Regions from separate parts of the Homo sapiens genome. Here all the other regions are linked to region 3. Evidence: promoter capture Hi-C in human tissues and cell types (Jung and others, 2019). All regions are on one chromosome and are shown on one strand. The core of a region is centred on a gene start or on the middle of the fragment in contact, and the rest is flanking DNA. Distances in the headings are between cores, read along the strand shown. Region 1 overlaps LOC105372836 (a long non-coding RNA gene). Region 2 overlaps ADARB1 (adenosine deaminase RNA specific B1). Region 3 holds the start of POFUT2 (protein O-fucosyltransferase 2). Region 4 overlaps SLC19A1 (solute carrier family 19 member 1).

The links. The method cuts DNA at HindIII sites, captures the fragments that hold promoters and counts their contacts. A contact is called where the count stands out against the background at its distance.
Region 1: a fragment that was not itself captured here is called in contact with the fragment with the promoter of POFUT2 in region 3 in 3 of the 25 tissues and cell types used here (dorsolateral prefrontal cortex, liver and spleen).
Region 2: a fragment that was not itself captured here is called in contact with the fragment with the promoter of POFUT2 in region 3 in 2 of the 25 tissues and cell types used here (dorsolateral prefrontal cortex and mesendoderm cells).
Region 4: a contact is called between a fragment that was not itself captured here and the fragment with the promoter of POFUT2 in region 3, in 3 of the 25 tissues and cell types used here (H1 embryonic stem cells, dorsolateral prefrontal cortex and mesendoderm cells).

The regions. Positions count from the first base shown.
Region 1 is chr21:45,063,380-45,068,500 of GRCh38, forward strand. All of the region lies in intron 2 of LOC105372836 (a long non-coding RNA gene), which reads right to left. Among named protein-coding and RNA genes, the nearest start is that of ADARB1, 8.6 kb to the right of the region's middle. RefSeq lists an enhancer at 1,389-2,222. The HindIII fragment of the contact is 3,437 bases long and covers 2,154-5,121 here.
Region 2 is chr21:45,083,449-45,088,549 of GRCh38, forward strand. All of the region lies in intron 1 of ADARB1 (adenosine deaminase RNA specific B1), which reads left to right. Among named protein-coding and RNA genes, the nearest start is that of ADARB1, 11 kb to the left of the region's middle. The HindIII fragment of the contact is 5,819 bases long and covers 188-5,101 here.
Region 3 is chr21:45,284,377-45,289,451 of GRCh38, forward strand. POFUT2 (protein O-fucosyltransferase 2) reads right to left here and starts at 3,519. Exons shown (of 9, transcript NM_133635.6): 1 at 3,365-3,519; 2 at 1,302-1,552. The coding sequence starts at 3,495. It overlaps LINC00205 (long intergenic non-protein coding RNA 205), which reads left to right and starts at 3,676. Exons shown (of 3, transcript NR_026943.1): 1 at 3,676-3,868; 2 at 4,975-5,062. RefSeq lists a silencer at 3,446-3,975 and an enhancer at 4,130-4,860. The HindIII fragment of the contact is 23,447 bases long and covers 1-5,075 here.
Region 4 is chr21:45,522,488-45,526,873 of GRCh38, forward strand. It overlaps SLC19A1 (solute carrier family 19 member 1), which reads right to left. Exons shown (of 6, transcript NM_194255.4): 5 at 3,330-3,471. Among named protein-coding and RNA genes, the nearest start is that of SLC19A1, 18 kb to the right of the region's middle. The HindIII fragment of the contact is 5,401 bases long and covers 1-4,386 here.

The DNA.
Region 1 (5,121 bases), core at 2,622-5,121, 220 kb before region 3:
ACCAGACACCTTGACCTTGGACTTTCCAACCTCCAGAACTGCAAGAAATAGATTTCTGTTGTTTATAAGCCATCCAGTCAAAGATGCTTTGTTATAGCTACCAGAATGGACCAAGACAGAGAGGTATACCATGATCATGGATTGGAGGATTCAGTACTAGGAAGCTGTCCATACTTCCTGAAATATCAATATTATTCTAATAGAAATTCCAGCAGGCTTTGTTGTAGAAATTGACCAGCTGATCCTAAAAGTTTAATGGAAAGGCAAAGAACTTGGAAGGGGGCAAACAATCCTGCACACAGCCTACAGGAATGACACCAGCTTCTTTTCCTTAAGCTATAGGATGCAAGACAATGTGGTGTCTGTGGGAAGCAAAACAAATAGATCAATGGAACAGAATAAAGAGTCAAGAAATAGACCCACTAAGCCCTGGTGCAGTGGCTCACACCTGTAATCCCAATACCTTGGGAGGCCAAGGTGGGAAGATCACTTAAACCCAGGAGTTTGACACCAGCCTGGGCAACATAGGGAGACCCTGTCTCTACAAAAAGTAAAAATGAAAAAATTAGCTGGGTGTGGTGTTGCACACCTGTGGTCTCAAGCTACTGCAGAGGCTGGGGTGGGAGGATTGCTTGAGTGGGGAGGTGGAGTCCCCAGTGAGCCATGGTTGTGCCACTGCACTCCAGCCTGGGCAACGGAGTGAAACCCCGTCACAAAATACCGAAAGAATTAGTTGTTGTAACGGAGGCTAATATGCTGGTGGGAGTGAGCTCAGGTGAGCGCGCCCCTTCCATAGTCACCCCAGTGTCCACCGCACACATCCTTCAGGCAGTGGAAGGGGTGGAAGTGCCCCTCCCCTTCCTCCTACCCTCCCACCCTTCTTCTTCCTCTCCCTCCCCCTCCTTCTGTTGTGTTTTACAGATACATGAGGGGCGGGGCCTGGGGCCTAAGCACTGGAATCCTCATGGAGAGGCTTCCCTGGAGTCCTTAGCTGCAGAGTGGTGGGCATATCTGATGCCCTTATTCAGATCTACCCACTGCGATATGTGTGAAGTGCTGAAGCTTTAATAAATAAAACGCAGGAGGGCTTGAGAAAGGCTCTGGGTATGGTGCACACAACCAGCTCATGCTCAGGGGATCGGGAAGGGGGTTCACCAAGCGCCCATGGAGACTGCATGCACTTATTTAATGAGCAACAAAGACATTACCAGACAGTCAAGGAAAAACATGTGTTTTTCCACTTTGGGAAATAGTCAAACTTTCATATTCCACCAAAAATAGAAGTGGAATTCTAGAAAACAAAAATAGGTGGGCTTATACTTGTATGCCATTCAAGCAAACCCGCATAGACTATGACTGCTCTCATCTCTCTGGAATGTGTGCTGTGTTCCCAGGAGGTCCGGGAAGGAGCCAGGACAAGAGGGAGCCTGGGACCTGTTCCTGGGCCTGAACTCCTGCGGCCACCAGGGTCCCTCCTGGTTCTCGTGGGGCCATCTGGGGTTGCACCCCTCCAGATGTGCTCTCCCTCCCCTCCGTCCCCTGAGGCGTTGATGACCGGCGGGAGACCCTTGCCCCTGAAAAGAGACTGGCCGAAGAACTGATGAATAGCTCCATCACCAATCTCCACGGTGGCCCGCACAGGACGGCAGAGACTTTTCTCCTCGAAGACCCTAGGCTGCTGGCAAACACTGAGCACTGCACCGCACGGTGGAGGGTGCTGGGGAGGGGCGAGCCTCTGAACCTCAGTGCAGGCGGGAACAGTGCCTCACATTTCTGTGGCTGATGGAATATTTAATGCTTAGTTTATACTTTCTTTTTACACGGTTTGCTTGAGGCATATTTTGTTGACTCATGACTTTACAGATAACTTCTCTGATGAGACTGAAGCCCAAGGAAGGGACCAATGTCCAGTAAGTGACCTGGTCTTACATCAACCAGAGCTGCTTCCATGCACTCAATAGAAAATGAGGCCCGAAGCCTCTCATCTGCTAGGCAGGGCCAGGCCACAGCAGCCCCCCATGGCCAGGACGCAGTTGGGGAGGGGGGCCAGGTCACAGCAGTCAGCAATGCCCCGTACCCAGGCCACAGACTCCCAACCACCCAGGCCACAGGAGACCCCCACTACCCCCAAGTCAAGCCACAAAAGTACCCCCCCCCCCATGCCTTAGGCCTCAGCAGGGCCAGGTGGAGCCCTGAGGTCTGGGCTTCTTCACCATTTTCCTTGTTTCTTCCACTCCTTGTCCTTGAAGCAAGGGGGTGGGCAAGCAGAGAGGGGGATTTGCTAGAAGGATCCTGGGGTATCTCCCGGGCTTTTTCCAAGTTGGGCTTTTTCCAGAAATGCAAGGTTGGTATAACATTTAAACTTTAATCAACTTAATTCATCATATTAATGTAATGAAGCAGAAAAATCATACTATCATCTCAATAAATGCAGAAGAAAGAATGTGATAAAACTCAGCATGCATTCAGGAAAAGAAACTCTTAGCAAAGTGGAGATAGAAGTGAGCTTCCTTGATCTCATCGGGGGCATCTATATTTAAAAATCCTACCACAGATCTCACACTTATTAGTGAAATATTGAAAGCGTCCCCCCTGAGGTCAGGAAAAAAATAAGGATGCTCACCACTAACACTTCTTTTCAGCAGCAGCTGGTGAGGTAAGCCAAGAAGAAAGCAATAAAGGATAAAATGATCAGAAAGGAAAAAATGAAAAAGTCATTATTCACAAACAAAATGATACGTATATAAGAAACCCAATAGAATCTACAGATAACTATTGAAATTATTAAGTGAATCTGGAAAGACTGCTGGTACAAGGTCAATACACAAAGATCAACTGCATTCTAAATAAACCAGAAACCAGTGGTCAGAAAATAAAAATAGGGAACATTTTAAATGATCATCCAATGCACCAAATGTCTGCGAATAAATCTAATGGACTATGTATGTAATATCTACACAGAAGACTAGAAGATAATGAGAGCAACTGGAGAATATTTAAATCAATGTAGGGCTAAACGTGAACTGGAGCACTCAATATTGTGAGAATATCCGTTCTCGCCAAATTGATCTATAGCTTCAATGAAATTCTAATAAAAATTCTAGCAGAATATTTTGAGGAAATTTATAAGCCAATTCAAAGATTTAAATGGAAATGCAAAATACCAAGTATAACCAAGAAAATTTTGAAAAACAGAAAAACTGCAAGGTGATTCTACGGTGTCAAAAGAAGACTCATGAGAAAGCTTCAGTAATTAGGACAGGAAACAGCAGTTCAAGGCCAGTCCTCAGCACCTAACAAAATAGTTCAGAAAAAAGCAACAACCCATGCCTATATGGATGCTGAATTCACAACAAAGCTACTGCAGCAGAGCAGCAGGGAGAAGGGAAATCATGTCAGTAAATGGTGCTAGGTCAACTGGGCACCAAACACAGACAACAGTTATGGACTGACTCTGAACCCCTACCTCACATTGTACAGAAAAACAATTCCTGGTGAATTGTCCTCTAAATTTGAAAATTGAAACAATAAACCTTCCAGAAGATAACAGAAGCATTCCTTCATGACCATGGAGTAGTTGAGTTTTCTAAACAGGAAACAAAAAAACCCTAACCGTAGAAAAAAACGGTAGATAAATTGGATCACATTGAAATTAAGAACTCCTGTATAACAAAAGACTCCACTGTGATTATGGAAATGCAAGACACAGGGTGAGAGAAGGTATTTGCAACACATATAGCTTGCCAAGAGTTTGGGTCTAGAATATATAAATAACTTCTACAAATAAATAATAAAGAAAACTTGTGGCTTCTTCACCAGAAAGGATGTGCATGTGGAAAACAAGAACATGTAAAGATGCTCAACCTCACTGGTCATTAGTGAACTACAGATTAAAGCCACTGTGAGGAACTACCACCACCCTCCAGGGTGGACAAAGTGTCAACACCAGCTGTTGATGTGGACAAGAAGCAGCCAGAAAGCTCCTCGCCTGCTGGTAGGAGTATAAAATGGCTCAACACGTTGGAAAATCAGTGTCCCCTCTGGAGTGGACCTATGTGTCTCCTGTGACCTGGTACACAACCCAACAGAAACATACACACGTGCGCTGAGAGGTGTAAGAGAAGGTTCACAGAGGCACAGGTTGATGGATCTCATGAACACAGCGTCAAGTGGAAGAATCAAGACACGAAAGAATACATTCTGTGTGATGTCACTTATGTGAAGCAAAAACAGGCATAACCAATCTGCGGAGGTAGGAGTCAGGGTAGAGCTTATCTTTAAGGCCCAGAGGCAGCTGTGGCTATGGAGGGGCACGCCGGACACTCCGAGTTGGTCACGTTCCGCTGCTCGCCCTGGTGGAGGTTTCACAGCTGTGTCCACTTTGGGCTAATGTGTTGAGATGTACATTTATGATATGGATACTTTTTGGTGTATGTATTATATCTCAAAAAAGTTTGAAAATACATGATGATGGCCACTTTTCACACCACCGTTCATGGCTGCTGTATCCCTGAGTAGCTTGTATAGGTGACAGTCAGCCCGAGTCCCTGAGATTCCAGTTTAAAACTATCAACTGCAAGATCTTGAATATATGGTAGTTGAAAGTTTCCTAGAGAGAAGGCTTTAAATAACCACATGAGCCATCTAATTTGTCACTAACCCAACTGTACTTAGGCTCAGCCTCCAGCCTCCATCCCCTCCAGAACAGCTCCTGGAGATTCAGCAGAGCGCGGCCTGCCCGCGCCCTCCCTCCTCCCCACTCTTGCCTGGCTTCAGTTGCTAATTACCTTTTAGCTTCTCAGGAAAGACTGCTAACATAATAATTAAGACATAACTCGGCAAAATAGAAAAAAAAATCTCCTTTTCCTGGCTCTAGTCCATTATTTTAGAGTAGTATGTTACCAGGAGCCATACTGTTTTTGCATCTGATTTATTTTAAAAATCTAGTATCATTCAAAAGAAGTTGGTGAAGCTGCTAATTTTGTTTGCTTTATATATTTATACTCATCCCACAAAGAATTTGAGGTGTTTGGTGTGTCTCTATATTCGCTTGCTCTTTTAATAATTTTTAAAAATGAGTTTCTCCTTAAGGATCATGTACTTTTTTTTAAATCTATTTTT
Region 2 (5,101 bases), core at 1,847-4,346, 200 kb before region 3:
ACATAGTAAATTATCTGTTGAAAACAGGGAGGCCACATCCTGGAAAAGTAGCTCTGTCCTGCCAGCATCATTTTAACCCCTTTTGGACAAGATACAGTTGAAATGCATTCTCTGAAATAATACTTATAACTACATCTTGACAGAAACAAGAATATTTCGAATAATTCTGGGAGGATTCAGGAAAAGGCAGCCAAATAAAATGAAAAAATACATTTGATTCAACTGTGGAGGCTTAAAGGAATTACACATCTTTTTTGTTTTTTTGCGACAGCGTCTTGCTTTGTTGCTCAGGCTAGAGTACAGTGGTACAATCATAGCTCACTGTAGCCACAACCTCCTGGGTTCAAGCGATCCTCCCGCCTCAGTCTCAGCCTCCCAGGTAGCTGGGGCTACAGGTGGATGCCACCACACCCGGCTAATTTTTGTATTTTTTGTAGAGACGGGGTTTTACCGTGTTGCCCAGGCTGGTCTCGAGCTCCTGGACTCAAGGGATCCAATTGCCTCGGCCTCCCAAAATGCTGGGATTACAGGCGGAGCCATTGCACCTGGCCAAAAAAGCATCTCTTATAAGCTGTTTTTGGTGAAGGAGCAAACAGGAAAGTGTCCCAGAATTTGGGAGATCAGGATTGTAATCCCAGCCCTGCTTCTGAACAGGATGGTGCATTCTCTTCATGCCTCTGCTGCAGGCTCCTTGGATGTAGAATGAGGGCAGTTGAATTGCTTGTTGCCGAGGTTCTCTCCATTTCTGGAAGACTATTGTAAGTCAGAGTCAAATAATCATTCATTCAGTTGTCCAATAAATACTCATCATAGAACCTATGTGTAGTCCTGTCTAATGGTAGGTGGTGCTACGTCACTTCCTGCCATGGCTGCCGAGGCTCACGCGAGGCTGGCACTTGGCAGAGAGTCCTGTCCCTTCTTTTGACTCAGTAACTGTGGAAAGAGGTGAGGTATAGGAAGGGAGGGCCTAGGCCTTAGGGGTTAAGCGGGCTTAGGAGGCAGGATTGAGAGAGGTGGAATGATGGATTCAGAGTCCAAGAGAAAACGTGAAACTCCAGGGGATTAGAATTGATCCCTTTCTCTGTTTCCTCAGTCTTAGGGGGACTAGACTGTGTTAGTTGTCTTGAATTAAATTGAGCAGGGGTTGTTTTTCACTTCTGTAAGTCCAGAGTTTATCATAAGCCACCAGAGGTAATTCAGTAGTAGTTAATATTTCATTAACCCTCACTTCTAAAATTACAAAGTTAGAAGTGGAGGTCTTTAACATATATATCAGTCAGGCTGGAGAGTAAGTTGGAAAGTTGCATTTTATTCCTGTGTGTTTACTTATGGCAGTGCACATAAGCCCAGTTTTGTTTCTTTTTCTTTGATTAGTAACAGTTGGGCACAAGGTGTCCAACCCACCCAGTGTTAAGTCACTTAGAGTGAGTTGATTTCCTTGAAAAAAGGAATCTTTTCAAGAATGTAAAGTGGCTTCTCGTAGTCTTCGTGAGGCTCTGGAGTCAGACACAATACTGGGTTACCCTGGGACCATGTGCAGTGAGCCCGGGCTTCTGGAGTCAGACACAGTACCTGGTTACCCTGGGATCATGTGCAGTGAGCCTGGGCTGCCGGATGCCGCTGGTGGGCCCTCTGCCAGCTGCTGCATCCCCAAGCCCTCTCTTGTGTCATTGTTTTCCCTTTTCAGGAATAGTTTCCACTAGGGACCTGCTCCCTCAAATTTCTATCATTTGAGGTGAGGTTTCGTGTTGGTTCATCTGACTGGCCGAGTGCACCCTGGCTGTGAGAACAGGAAATAGAATTCTGGCTTTTGTCTTAGGGATATCCCCAGGTAGAGAGAGGAGATTCAAAAGATGCTGGGGAGCTACAGACGTGACCTCTGACCTCTACATGAAGAATGGTGGAAAACACTTACTACTTAGTGTTAATCTACACATTTCACTTGGTTTAGACCTAAGCATAAATAGTGTGAAGTCGATTTAAACAGAGGTTACAGTTTCCAGAAACTTCAGCGCCGTGGCTGCAGTTAAACAGCAATGATTGGACTCTTTACGTCTACTCCATTCTCGATATGAATGAAAGTAGTCACATCAAATGCATATTTATTAGTCTTGGTCATTTTGAATTTGAGTCCTTTACATACTATGTATGTATGTACCCAGGAGCAGAGCAGGGTTAAAAGTGACATCTTCTAACTTCTACTCTGGAATTTTTTCCCTCTGCACTTTTTGTTGTCACGTAGTAGATGTTTTCACCCACATGCAGGTGAATGAGTGACATATTTATCTTGTTACATAGTGAAGCTTTCAATTCTTTAATTTTATCCCTCTAATGAAACTGTGAGGAATTGATTCTGTTGACACAGAAAAGGCTGGTGTCACATGAACCTAAAGGACGTCATTGAGCATGTGCCTCTCACGCAGAACTGACATAGAGCCTCCCGTGCAGCTCACCTTGAATTCTCCATGCACGAATCAGCCATAGGCACGTGTTATGTGTGGCACAGGCAAGAAGTGCCTGATAGATTTTAGTTCTGTTTATTGCTGGAAGCCCTTGCTGTAGGAAAAGGAAGGTTTTTTCCTTTCCTGGACAATGATTTTGAGCTACGGTGTAGAATGGAAAAGGCAGGCTTTGATTTGCCAGACACTGCTTGCTATGTGTGAAGCCGGGATAGGGCGGTGCTGTTGGACAGAAGACCTGCCCTGTGTGCCTTTTCACACTGCATTGAGAATTTGTCTAGATGATTTCCTGGGCTTATTGATTGTTGAAGGAAACAATGCAAATTGCAAGTTATGATCAAATAATGCTTTGAGTCTTCACCTTTTTAGAATGCTCTGGGAAAATACGGGGAGAAAATAAACCATAGGAAAGGCATTTTGAGGCGGTTTTGTTTTGTTTTAAACAGCTGCCATGAAATGCACCCTCTCTAAGAGGACAATTCAGTGATTTTCTGAATGTCTGAGTTGTGCAGACATCACCACTGTCTAGTTCTTGAACACTCCTGTCACCTCAAATGTTCCCTGTGCTTGTCTGCAGTTGATTCGCGCACCCAGCCCAGCCTCAGGCAACCGCTCAGGCAGCCTGCCTGCTGTTTCCACATGTGCCTTGCAGATATTTCATGGGAAGCAGCTCATGTCCTGTGTCATCGTTTGCATCAGGCTTTCACTTAACATGTTTTTCGGGTTCATCCGTGTGTTGTAGAACATATCAGTAATTTGTTCCTTTTAGTCGTATTGGCGTAGCGTGTTCGTTTATTCCACTCCAGCGATGGACTTTGGGTTGTTTCTGCATTCTGGCTATTATGAATCACGTGACTTTGAACATTAGCAAGCATGTCTGCGTGTGGATGTGTATTTTCATTTGTCATAGGTAGATTCCTAGGAGTTCGTAGGAGCTTCGAAATGGAGTTTAAGACAGAAGCCTTTGTTTGATACTGATAATGCTAGCAAGGGCCATTTATTTGGCTTGCTCTTGAAGTCTGTCTCTGTGATGTGCATTGTGCTTCTTGAATTGTATGAGCCTACTATAGGATGAAATATGGTTATAATGTCGAGCAGAAGCTATTAGCATTTCTTAAGCTGACCACCTGTGTTGTGCACACTATTAGGTCCTCAGCAGATGAGTTCTTACCGGGTGTTTGATGTTTTCCCCCCACTTATCAGAAGAGGAAGTCGGTGAAGTACGGTTGGGCATATTAAAACCACATTCAGCCTACAACACCACAGAAACACTTACCCTTTGACCCAGCAATTCTGCTTCTAGGAATCCTTCCAGAAGATAGACCTCCAACAATGTGAAAATACATTCGGAATAACCTAAATATCCATATGCAGGAGAGGGTTGAGTAAACTCTAGTACAGCCACACAACCACATCCACTGTTGAGGATGACCTCTGTGAATTGGTTTGAGGTGGTTTCCAGGGCACGTGGATGTGAATGAGGCAAGTACCAAAGAACATCTAAATGCTGCCCTTGATGTGAGAAGAAGGGGATGCAGGAAGACACACGCTCCCTGCACACTTGTGCAGAGGAGATACAGGAGGGCAGAGCCAGAAACAAAAGAGATGGTGACTGCAGAGGGCCAGGGGACGGAGGAGGAGTGGGTGCCAGGTCATAGGTGGGGTGCAGAGGGCGAGGGGGCAGGGAAGTGGAGTGGGTGCCAGGTCATAGGTGGGGTGCAGTGCTGCTCTCAGTACACCTTTTAGTGTGGCCCAGCTCTTGAAACCACAGCAATACTTCATATACTCCAAAGTAAAATAGATGGTTAATATCAGCCAGGATGTGGGGGACCCAAAATGAAATATAAGCGGAAAACACACATCTCACTGTAGTACAAAGCGGCAGGGCCACAGCAAAGGGGGTGGAAAGGAAAGTGTTAACCTTATTTGGGAAAATGATAATGTTGACTGGATTCTGTGAGGCTGAAGAGAACTGTACAAAATAGTAGTAAATTTTTTTCTCAGTGTTAATGGTGAGCAATGTGAAACGACTTTATGTGTATGTGGGGATTGAACAAATAAGCAGAATCGTAGTGGATAATGAGAGCCAGGTTTCTCACTGTCCCAGGAAGAAGTTACAAATAGCAAAAGGAAGATGGCAGAGGGAGGCCGTGCTGTTGGATTGGGATAGGTGTCAGTGTGACTCTGTGGTCTTTAATAGATGCATGTACAGCACAGGAGTAAACATAGGTGTACGCGTTACATGCATGGGTTAGTGATACACCTACATATGCATCTCCTAGCCTTGTCCGTTGGGAAGACCTAGAAGCAATGACCTCCAGCAACAGGGAGCACACCTAAATATCAGTTGCTGATAAAAATAAGCAGGGCTCCTTGCAGAAGATGAGTCTGGAACCTCTGATGATGCTGGAAATAAGGAAGTGGCCAAAATGGATGGGGTGTGTCAGAGGGCACATAAGCAACCTGGAGGAGCCCCATGGCCAAAGCGGGTCAATTTGAGCAAGGAAATGAGTAATGATAGTATAGGTGTATAATCTATAAAACAAAGTCAGTATCACTACTGATACTTCTTATATTGATATAAGAAGAAATTGAAAAAATAAGGAGAAGGGACATCTCTTCCTGACAGAAACATTCCAATT
Region 3 (5,075 bases), core at 2,269-4,768:
GGTGAAGATCCTGCACGCTGGGCGCTATGTCAGCCACATCAGGAGCTCACCGTGTGCAGTCTCTTGGCAGCCTCGCCCTAGGACAGGCACCCAGTTCCTTCCCCACCTCACAGGCGAGGAAACAGCTCAGCAAAGCCCCAGGCTGGTGGATGGCAGGTAAGCGTGAGACCAGCATATGTGCCTCAGAAGCTCATTACACAGCATCTGTCTTCCCAGACCTTCCCAAGCACTTGGATGCCCAAGGCCCAGACCTGTCCGCTTCCCTGTCAGGAAACCCACTGGTACCAAAGGGAGGTAAGGATAGCATCTCTGGGTTCCTATAACCCAATGTTCAGACCGAGGGCTGGCTGCTAGTTAGACCCAATACCCAACCACAGCTTTCATCTTCCAGGACTCACAAGCAAATTTTAAAGTCAACTCAGGAAAGGACGCACTCCAGGAATGCTTTTTACAAGCAGCAGACTTTCTGACTTGGTATCAACAAGGATGTTGGAGGTTACCGCCTGTTGTTGCATGCCCCTAGCACTCACAAGACTGACCTTGACACAGAAAACATTTCAGAGTGACAAGATCTAGGGTGCAACGAGAACCACATCCTTGAAAAATGATGACACGGGAGCCACACTCCTTGGCAGGGAGCAAAGGTCTCTAAGCCCCGAGAGTGGCTGTCGAGTAAGAACTCAACAGATGCTGGAAAGCAGGAGCCTGACTCAAAACTAACTCATTCGTCTTCAAGGCCTCTCAAGTGCAGCAGCAAAGCATCACTTACCTTTATCTCTTCCAAACAACGCAACACAAAAAGCTCTAAATACCTTCATTCTAAGAAGAGCTTTAATTCTTCTCTTAAAATTAACTGAAAAGATTAAGCAACACAAAATTAAACGAGACAGACCTTTATCCCTGGCGCTGCACTGAGACACCACGAAGCATACTCCACACGCAGTGCGTCTTCCTGAACGTAAAACAGCCTTTCGCACAGGGAGCCGAGTCCTGTCACTATAACACCCAGGGGTGGCCGCTTTCTTAGGGTGTAAGGGCGGCTCTAACTGAGGGGGCACAAAGCTCATCCACTTCAGGTCCATTTCCGAGAAACATTTTGGGAAGCTCACTGCAGCGTGGGAAAGGGACTGTGCTCCTGAACGGAGGAGGTGCTGCCACAGGCCTCAGGCAGCAGCACTGGGCACTGGAGGATGCTGGTGAGGCTGGATGCAATCGTAAGCCCAACCTGATGTCTACCTTAGAAATGACTGCCTGGCCCCAGTTAAGCAACCACGGCCTCCCAGCGTGCCGCTCGGCCTCACCTGCGATGAACTGCTCATACTCGATGACGGGGATGTTTTTATTGAGACTTGGAAGATCAAAAAACTCAGACCAGGGAATCCGGACCTGGTGGATGTCAGGACTCTGCCAGTGATAGAGGCGGCCCCATGGAGGCAGGACAAGCACCCACTCCTCCGTCTTCAGCAGAGTCTTCAGGAGAGAGGCGATTCGGATATAGACATCCCTGCGCAGGTTGAAGCCTTCCGGGGGGTTGACGTCATACAGAAGATACCTGAGCAGGGAGAAGGAGGACCACAGGTCTCAAATGCTGAGGTTTCTGCACGGAAAACCCGACTGCTCACAAGTCTCAGCGCGTGGCCCGACTCTAGGCACTTAACAATGGTTCCTAGTTTGTGAAGGCAGTGAGTGGCCTGTTTCTCTATGACCAGTTACTTACGGAGCCTGTAAGCAGAAGCAGCAGACATGCTAACATCGTTTTAACAATTAGCAATAGTTCAACACTAAGGCAGAGGAATCCCAGTGACTGGAACCCAAGAATCAGTACCCACATGGTTCTCAAACTGTTTGGTTTAAAGACCCCTTTACACTGGAAACAATGACTGACGGCTGGTTATGTGCACTATGTCTATTGATACGTCCTATGTTAGACGTTAAAGCTACAAGTATTTAATTCAGCTAAAAATAAGAAGCCATTACATGTTAACAAAAACCACATATTTAAATAAAAAATAAGTGTATTTTAAAAAATGAATTAGAAGAACTGTGATGATGTTCTTAATTTTTGCAAATCTCTTTTGGGTTTGGTGACAGCTGGATTCCCATACCCGTTTCTGCATTCAATCTGTTGTGACATCACAGATCAAGTGGTTTCTAGGAAAACTCCACAGTGCATTCATGAGAAGTGAAAAAGGCGTATAATACTCTGGTACTACTATTAAAACGGCTACAAAAGCTCAGAGATCCAGGACACACTTTAAGATCACTGCCCTAGAGGAAGGACACAAAGCGCCCCAAGGCACAGACAAGTCCCCAAGGCACAGACAAGTCCCCAAGGGCTACAGAAACCCTGTCCCTGGCGCTCTCCTTTCCCTGCTCTGCGCTGGTTTTCCATACTCCCATCGTCGCGAGTGAAGCTGCGTGCAGCGCCCAGGCCTGCGAACGCCACGAGGGGCCGTGCACACCTCTGCGTCCAGGCCCCTCCCGGGGTCCGCTTGGAGATCCCACAGCCACAGGGCGGCCGCGAAGCTCGTCTTGGCCCTGAGAATTCACTGCGGAGCGCCCGCCCGGCACTGACTCCCGGCTCCGCACACCCAGGCCTGGACCCGTGTCACTTGCAGGGGCCTCCGGAGCCAGCCCACGCTCAGCCTGAGCAACCCGGCCCCCTTCCTGGGCTCCCGAGGCTGCGCCCCGGGCCTCGCAGACGACCCCGCCTGCAGACCCGGGCCGCAGTGACGCAGCCTCGACTACAGCCAACCCGCTGGCCCGACCCTGCCCCCAGCCCCCGCCCCATCCCATCCCCCAGACTCCAGCCCGGCCCCGGCCCCTGCCCCTGCCCCTGCCCCTGTCCCGTCCCCGTCCCATCCTTCTTGGCCCCGGCTCCCGCCCCGCCCCCATCCCATCCCTCGGGCCCCCGTTCCTGCCCCCATCCCATCCCACCCCTCCTGGCCCTAGCCCCTGCCCCGCCCCCATCCCATCCCATCACCCTGGCCCCTGCCCCGCCCCCATCCCATCCCATCGCCCTGATCCCTGCCCCGCCCCCATCCCATCCCTCCTGGCCCCTGCCCCCTGCCCCTATACCATCACCCTGGCCCCTTACTCCGCCACATTCCTTGCCCCAGAACCCTGACCCCATCCCATTCCCCTGACCCCTGCCCCCTGACCCCGCTCCATCCCATCCCCCTGGCCCCTGCCCCATAACTCCGCTCCATTCCATCTCCCTGGCCCCGGACCACCCTCCATCCCGTGGGCCTGCCCCTGACCCCATCCCATCTCCCTGGCCCCTGACCCCGCCCCGCCCCCATCCCATCCTCTGACCCTGCCCGGTCCTGGAACCCCAGCGTTGGCACCGTGGACGCGCGTTTACCGTCTGCGGGAAGCCGCCCCCGACAGAATATCGGCCGCCGATTGTCCGGGCCAGAACTCCTGGCCGGAGGCAGAAGCCGGAGGCCAGGACACTGCCCCCAGCAGCAGGAAGACGAAGCTGAGTGTCGCCATGGCCCCGGGCGGCCACGCACTTCCGGCGGCCGCGCCCCGCCCCGGAACCACGCCCCGCCCCCGTGAAATGCGTTCCCAGTAGCCACGGCAACGCCCAGCTCCGCCCTCCCCGCGCATGCGTTATGCGCCATCACCGGCAAGCAGGGGCGGGAGGGGGAACTGCGCGTGCGCAGAGTCTCCGCCCTCCTGACCGCAGCGGCTAGAGGTTCCATTGCAGACCCGGAGGCCGTGGCTGTGGTTCGCGGCGGTGCTGTCGCGGGCGCCCTGGCGCAGCCCACGCAGGGGCTCCTGAGGGTCCGCGAGGCCGGGAGGTCCGGGGGTCGGGAGGTCCCGGGGTCGGGAAGTCGGTGGACCCTGCAGGCCAGTGGGGAGGGTACGCGAGACTGGGGGCCGGGAGGGCTGACGGCTGGTGGCGCGGGGCGGGTCCGTGGGGAGGAGGCCCGGGGCTGGTAGGGGCGGGAGGGCTGGACGGCGGGGGCGGGGCGGAGGAGGGGGTCCGTAGACGGGGTCGGCGCCGGGTGCTCTCGCCCCTCTGGAGCTGGGGTCGGGGCGGGAGCCGCGCATGAGAGCCTGGGTTTCTAGTCGGGGGGCGCCGTCGAGCTCCACACCTGCGGCCTCCTGGGTGCCCCCAACCCTGGAGCCCCGGCGAGGGGGCACCCGGGCTGAGGCCTGGCCCTCCAAGGAGCCCTGGAGGGACTGTGCTGCTAGGGCGCGGGGCTCGATGGGGTGATCTGGAGACCTGGGGGGATCCGGGGCTGCCGCCCCTGCGCTGCCAACCTCCCACCCCGCCCCTTCTGCGAGGCGTTATTAAAGGTCTGGTTTCGGGAGCCAGGTGCGTGCCCGCCGCCGCCGCTCCCCGCAGCCTCCAGGCAGCTCCCGCTGTTCCCCGAGGGCACCAGCACTGGCCGACCGACCTGGCTTGGGGCGCGGCGCTGGCAAACCCGGCCTTCTGAGGGGACGCCACGCTGACTCTAGTGCAGGCAGCCCCCAAAACGGTATAATTGGACGAATTTCTTGAAGGATGCCAGTTACCAAAAAAGAAAATACTAATGCTTATTATCTGTTAAATTTGAGATCAATTTGTTATCAAATTTTCTCACACAGAAAATTCCAGGCCCAGAGGGCCAAGCTGGTGAATCCTACTTAGAGAAGAAATAATAGGAATCCAGCCACTCAGACGATGGACGAGGAGGGGCACTTCCCTGCTCGATGTATGGGCCAGCATTGCCTTGATAGCAAAGTCAGACATCACCAGACAGTAGAACCACAGACCAATGTCTTTCATGAACCAAGACACAGCATTTAAAAAAATTAGCAAATGGAATTTATATCTGCCTATTGTTTACAAAAAAAGCCAAACTTTGTAAAATACTTGAAGAGATTTATTCTGAGCCAAATATGACCCATGACACAGCCTCAGGACGTCCTGAGAACTTGGCCCAAGGCGGTTGTTTTACTGCTTGGTTTTATTCATTTCAGGGAGACATAAGACATCAGTCAGTACATGTGAGGTGTGCATTGGATTGATCCAGAAAGTCAGGACGACTCCAAGTGGAAAGGCCTCCAGGTAATAGGTGGAT
Region 4 (4,386 bases), core at 1,300-3,799, 240 kb after region 3:
TCTGGGCGTCTGTCCCAGGGAAAGGAAAACCTATATTCACACAAAAACCTATAAAAGAATGTCCATAGCAGCTTTATTGGTAATACCTCACACTGGAAACAAGTCTTTCAACGGTGAATAAATAAAGTGTGCTGTACCTACACCCTGGAACAGCACTCAGCAGCAAGAAGGAATCAGCCACAGCCACAGTAACAACATGGATGAATGTTCAGAGAACAGTGTTGAGTGAAAAGAGCCAATCCCTAAACGATACACAATGCATAGCCGTGTTTATACAACACTCCTGAAATGACAAACTCATACAAGCGGAGAAGAGGGTAGTGGCTGCCAGGGGTTAAAGAGGACGTGAGGCTGGGAGTAGGGTGGGCCTTGGCTATAAAGAGCAGCATGAGGGATCCCTGTGGGGATAGAATGTTCTGGATCCTGACTGTCGCCATGCTGGTTGTGATGTGCTACAGAACTGTAAGACGTGACCACTGTGAAAACTGGGTACGGGGTACATGGATCTCCCTGTATTATTTATTAAACAGCATGTGAATATAAGATTACCCAAATATAAAGCTTAATTTAAAAAGCAGGCAAACCCAGGCAAGCTCTAGCCCTGTCTGTCCCCCCATGCTCCATCACGGCTCCCTCCCGTCTCCAGACTCTACCCCCGACCAAGCCTGAACTCCTGGCCCAGCTGTTCTCCCCATGCTGGAGGAAAGAGAGTGGACACTCGGCACCCAGTAACAGGCACGGGGGCAAGATGAGCCCGCACCACCTCCTCTAGACCCAACAGGATGTCCAGCCATGAGCAAAATGCCCCACTAGTTAACTTTTTAACCTAGAAATCAAACCAGCCAGAGAAAAGTCCATGTGTTTTTTTTCTATGTGACAAGAGGCAGCCAGGAACCACAGGCCAGAACCTGCCTCCACCTCCCCAGAGCTGTCTCCCCCACAGCCTCCACGGCCACACCAGGACCAGGACCAGCTAAGGAAGGGAAAGGGCTTCCTCGTGACCAGCTCTCTGGGGAAGAACTGCTCCACCCCCTGCACCAAGCCCCCATGGGCCCTTAGAAGCCCACCGTGAGGGGTCCCCTCCACAGGGCAGCTACAGGGGAGCACACGCACAGAGTCCCTAAAGAGCCCTCAGGCATCTGCCCCTCCAGCTGCCAAGGGCTGAACAAGAGGCAGTCACAGAGGGATGGAGGTGGGGCGGCAACGGTAGTCAGGGGCAGTCAGCACCCAGAGGCAGGTCAGAAGCCAGTTCCAGCCTGGCTGGGGCCACACAGGGCCCTGAGGGTCTCCCTGGGACGGGCACTCCCTGCCCATACATGCTGGCAGCCACTGCTGTCTGGGGACAGAGGTAACTCGGGGCTCCAAGAATGGGGAGGACCTCCTCCCGGGTGCTGGAGCCCCTCCAAAGCCAGCTGGACTGCTGCCAGCACCCCGCCCTGGGGCCATGCATTCAACAGAAGCCTTCTGGGCCCCCTTTCTGCAGACCTGAGACCAGCCCGGCCACCAGGAGGCTGTGTCCACCCAGGCCGGGCCTGGACACATTCACCCGTGGGCCTTGGAGACTCACCTGTCCTGAGCGTTCACCCCTGGGCTTCGGAGGCTCACCCGCCCTGAGCGTTCACCCCTGGGCCTCGGAGACTCACCTGCCCTAAGCGTTCACCCCTGGGCCTTGGAGGCTCATCACCCTGAGTGTTCACGCCTGGGCCTTGGAGGCTCACCTGCCCTGAGTGTTCACACCTGGGCCTCGGAGGCTCACCCGCCCTGAGTGTTCACACCTGGGCCTCAGAGGCTCACCCACCCTGAGCGTTCACCCCTGGGCCTTGGAGGCTCACCTGTCCTGAGCGTTCACCCCCGGGCCTCGGAGACTCACCTGCCCTGAACGTTCACCCCTGGGCTTCGGAGGCTCACCCGCCCTGAGTGTTCACCCCTGGGCCTCGGAGACTCACCTGCCCTAAGCGTTCACCCCTGGGCCTTGGAGGCTCATCACCCTGAGTGTTCACGCCTGGGCCTTGGAGGCTCACCTGCCCTGAGTGTTCACACCTGGGCCTCGGAGGCTCACCCGCCCTGAGTGTTCACACCTGGGCCTCAGAGGCTCACCCACCCTGAGCGTTCACCCCTGGGCCTTGGAGGCTCACCTGTCCTGAGCGTTCACCCCCGGGCCTCGGAGACTCACCTGCCCTGAACGTTCACCCCTGGGCTTCGGAGGCTCACCCGCCCTGAGTGTTCACCCCTGGGCCTCGGAGACTCACCTGCCCTAAGCGTTCACCCCTGGGCCTTGGAGGCTCATCACCCTGAGTGTTCACGCCTGGGCCTTGGAGGCTCACCTGCCCTGAGTGTTCACACCTGGGCCTCGGAGGCTCACCCACCCTAAGCGTTCACCCCTGGGCCTTGGAGACTCACCCGCCCTGAGTGTTCACACCTGGGTCGGGGGTGTTGTACCCAGAGGGCTCTGTGGCACAGGGCCACGTGGCCTGCCAGCGTGGACAGGCCCTAATGACACTCTTGGGCTGAAGAATGCATTTCGATGAGTGAGCAACAGCCATCCTCACCTAACAGGCATTTGTGAGCCGAAGGGGATGCCTGCTATTGCCCGGGCCTTACCCTGAGCTCTGGAGTCACTGAAGCTGAACAGACTCCGCACCCTCAGAGGATCAGGACTAACCCTGACAGTCCTCCTGCCCAGTGAGACCTGGGCCCCAGGTGGACAAAGCCCTTGTCCCACCCGCCAAGGGCATCTGTCTAGCTGCAGGCTGGGGCAGTCCTGAGGAGCCTGGAAGGACCTCTCACACCACGCCCACCATGGCTGATTCCAGCTCACTCGGAGACCCGGCCTTGGCTGGGACCCTCAGGAGTTAAATGTGTGTTTTCCAGCTCTTCTCAGAAGCAGCAGAGGCCCGCGAGAGGTGGGAAAGGGGAGGGCACCCGCAGAGGCCTGCGCACTGACACTGCTGAGTGGCTCTGCTCAGCTCTCCTTCCTGAAGAGGACAAAGGTCACGTGGCCTCCAGCCAGGGCTCAAGGACACCAAGTTCCGGCAGCCACAGGCAGAGAGCGGAGACAAGGACAGCTCCGCCGTGGCGAGCAGAGGCTCAGCTGCTCCCACTGAGGCCCAGGGCCTGACGGAGGCTCCCGCCCACAACAACTGAGCCCCGCTAGGGTCTCTCTCACTTCCTGCTCTCGCTGGCCTGGTGTGTCCCACTGGAAGCCCCAGGCCCGCACCCTGTGCCCCCAGCCCACAGTGGGCTCCACATCAGGCGGGCACCAGGAGGCCTCAACAATGTCCCCACAAGTAGCTTCCATCCCCGAGGACGCAGGCCTGAAATGGGCTCACCTGCTTGCGGACCGGGAGGCCCAGGCCCCGCACGTCCGAGACAATGAAAGTGATGATGGTCTTGACGATGGTGGCAAAGAACGTGTTGACCCCGAAGACCAGGGCACAGAGCTCTTTAGACAGAGAAGATGCAATCTGAAAGCTGAACGGGAAGAGCGGGCAGATCAGGCGCTGCTGGGAGAATAAGCAGCAGCCACAGGGAAAAGCCTGCAGCCCGGCTCCCACCAGCCCATGACCCGCCCGGCAGCCACGGGGTCCCAGGGCACGCACAAGCCCCCCACCAGGCCCCCATCTCTCCCACACATGCCCGCCCCTGCCAGGCAGGAGCCAGCACCCAGGCCACCCTCGAGGGGCCATTCTGGGAGCTGCCGTGTCCCCCTGGCTCAGTACAGAGTGAGGGTCCCTTATCCAAAATGCCTGGGGCCAGTAGTTTTGGATTTGGGAATATTCACATGTCCATAATGAGATGTCTTGAGGATGGAACCCAAGTCTAAACACGAAATGCATTTATGCTCATATGCACTGTACACACACAGCCAGAAGGTGATTTTATATAATACCTGACAAACATTTGCAAGCCAAAGGGGTTGCCTGCTACTGCCCAGGGCCTCACCCTGAGTTCTGGAGTAATTTTGTGCATGAAGAAACTTTTGACCGTGTTCTGAGACTCGTCAAACAAGGTCAGGTACAGGATTTTCCACCGGGTTGTCTTTCCGGTGCTCAAAAACTGTCAGATTTTGGAGTATTTCAAATTCTGGATTTTTTGTTATTTTTTTTTAGATGGAGTCTCGCTCTGTTGCCCAGGCGTGCAATGGCACAATCTCAGCTCACTGCAACCTCTGCCTCCTGGGTTCAAGCAATTCTCCTGTCTCAGCCTTTCGAGTAGCTGGGATTACAGGCACGCGCCATCATGCCCAGCTAATTTTTGTATTTTTAGTAGAGACAGAGTTTCACCATGTTGGCCAGGCTGGTCTCGAGCTCCTGGCCTCAGGTGATCCACCCACCTCAGCCTCCCAAAGTGCTGGGATCACAGGTGTGAGCCACTGCGCCCAGCTGA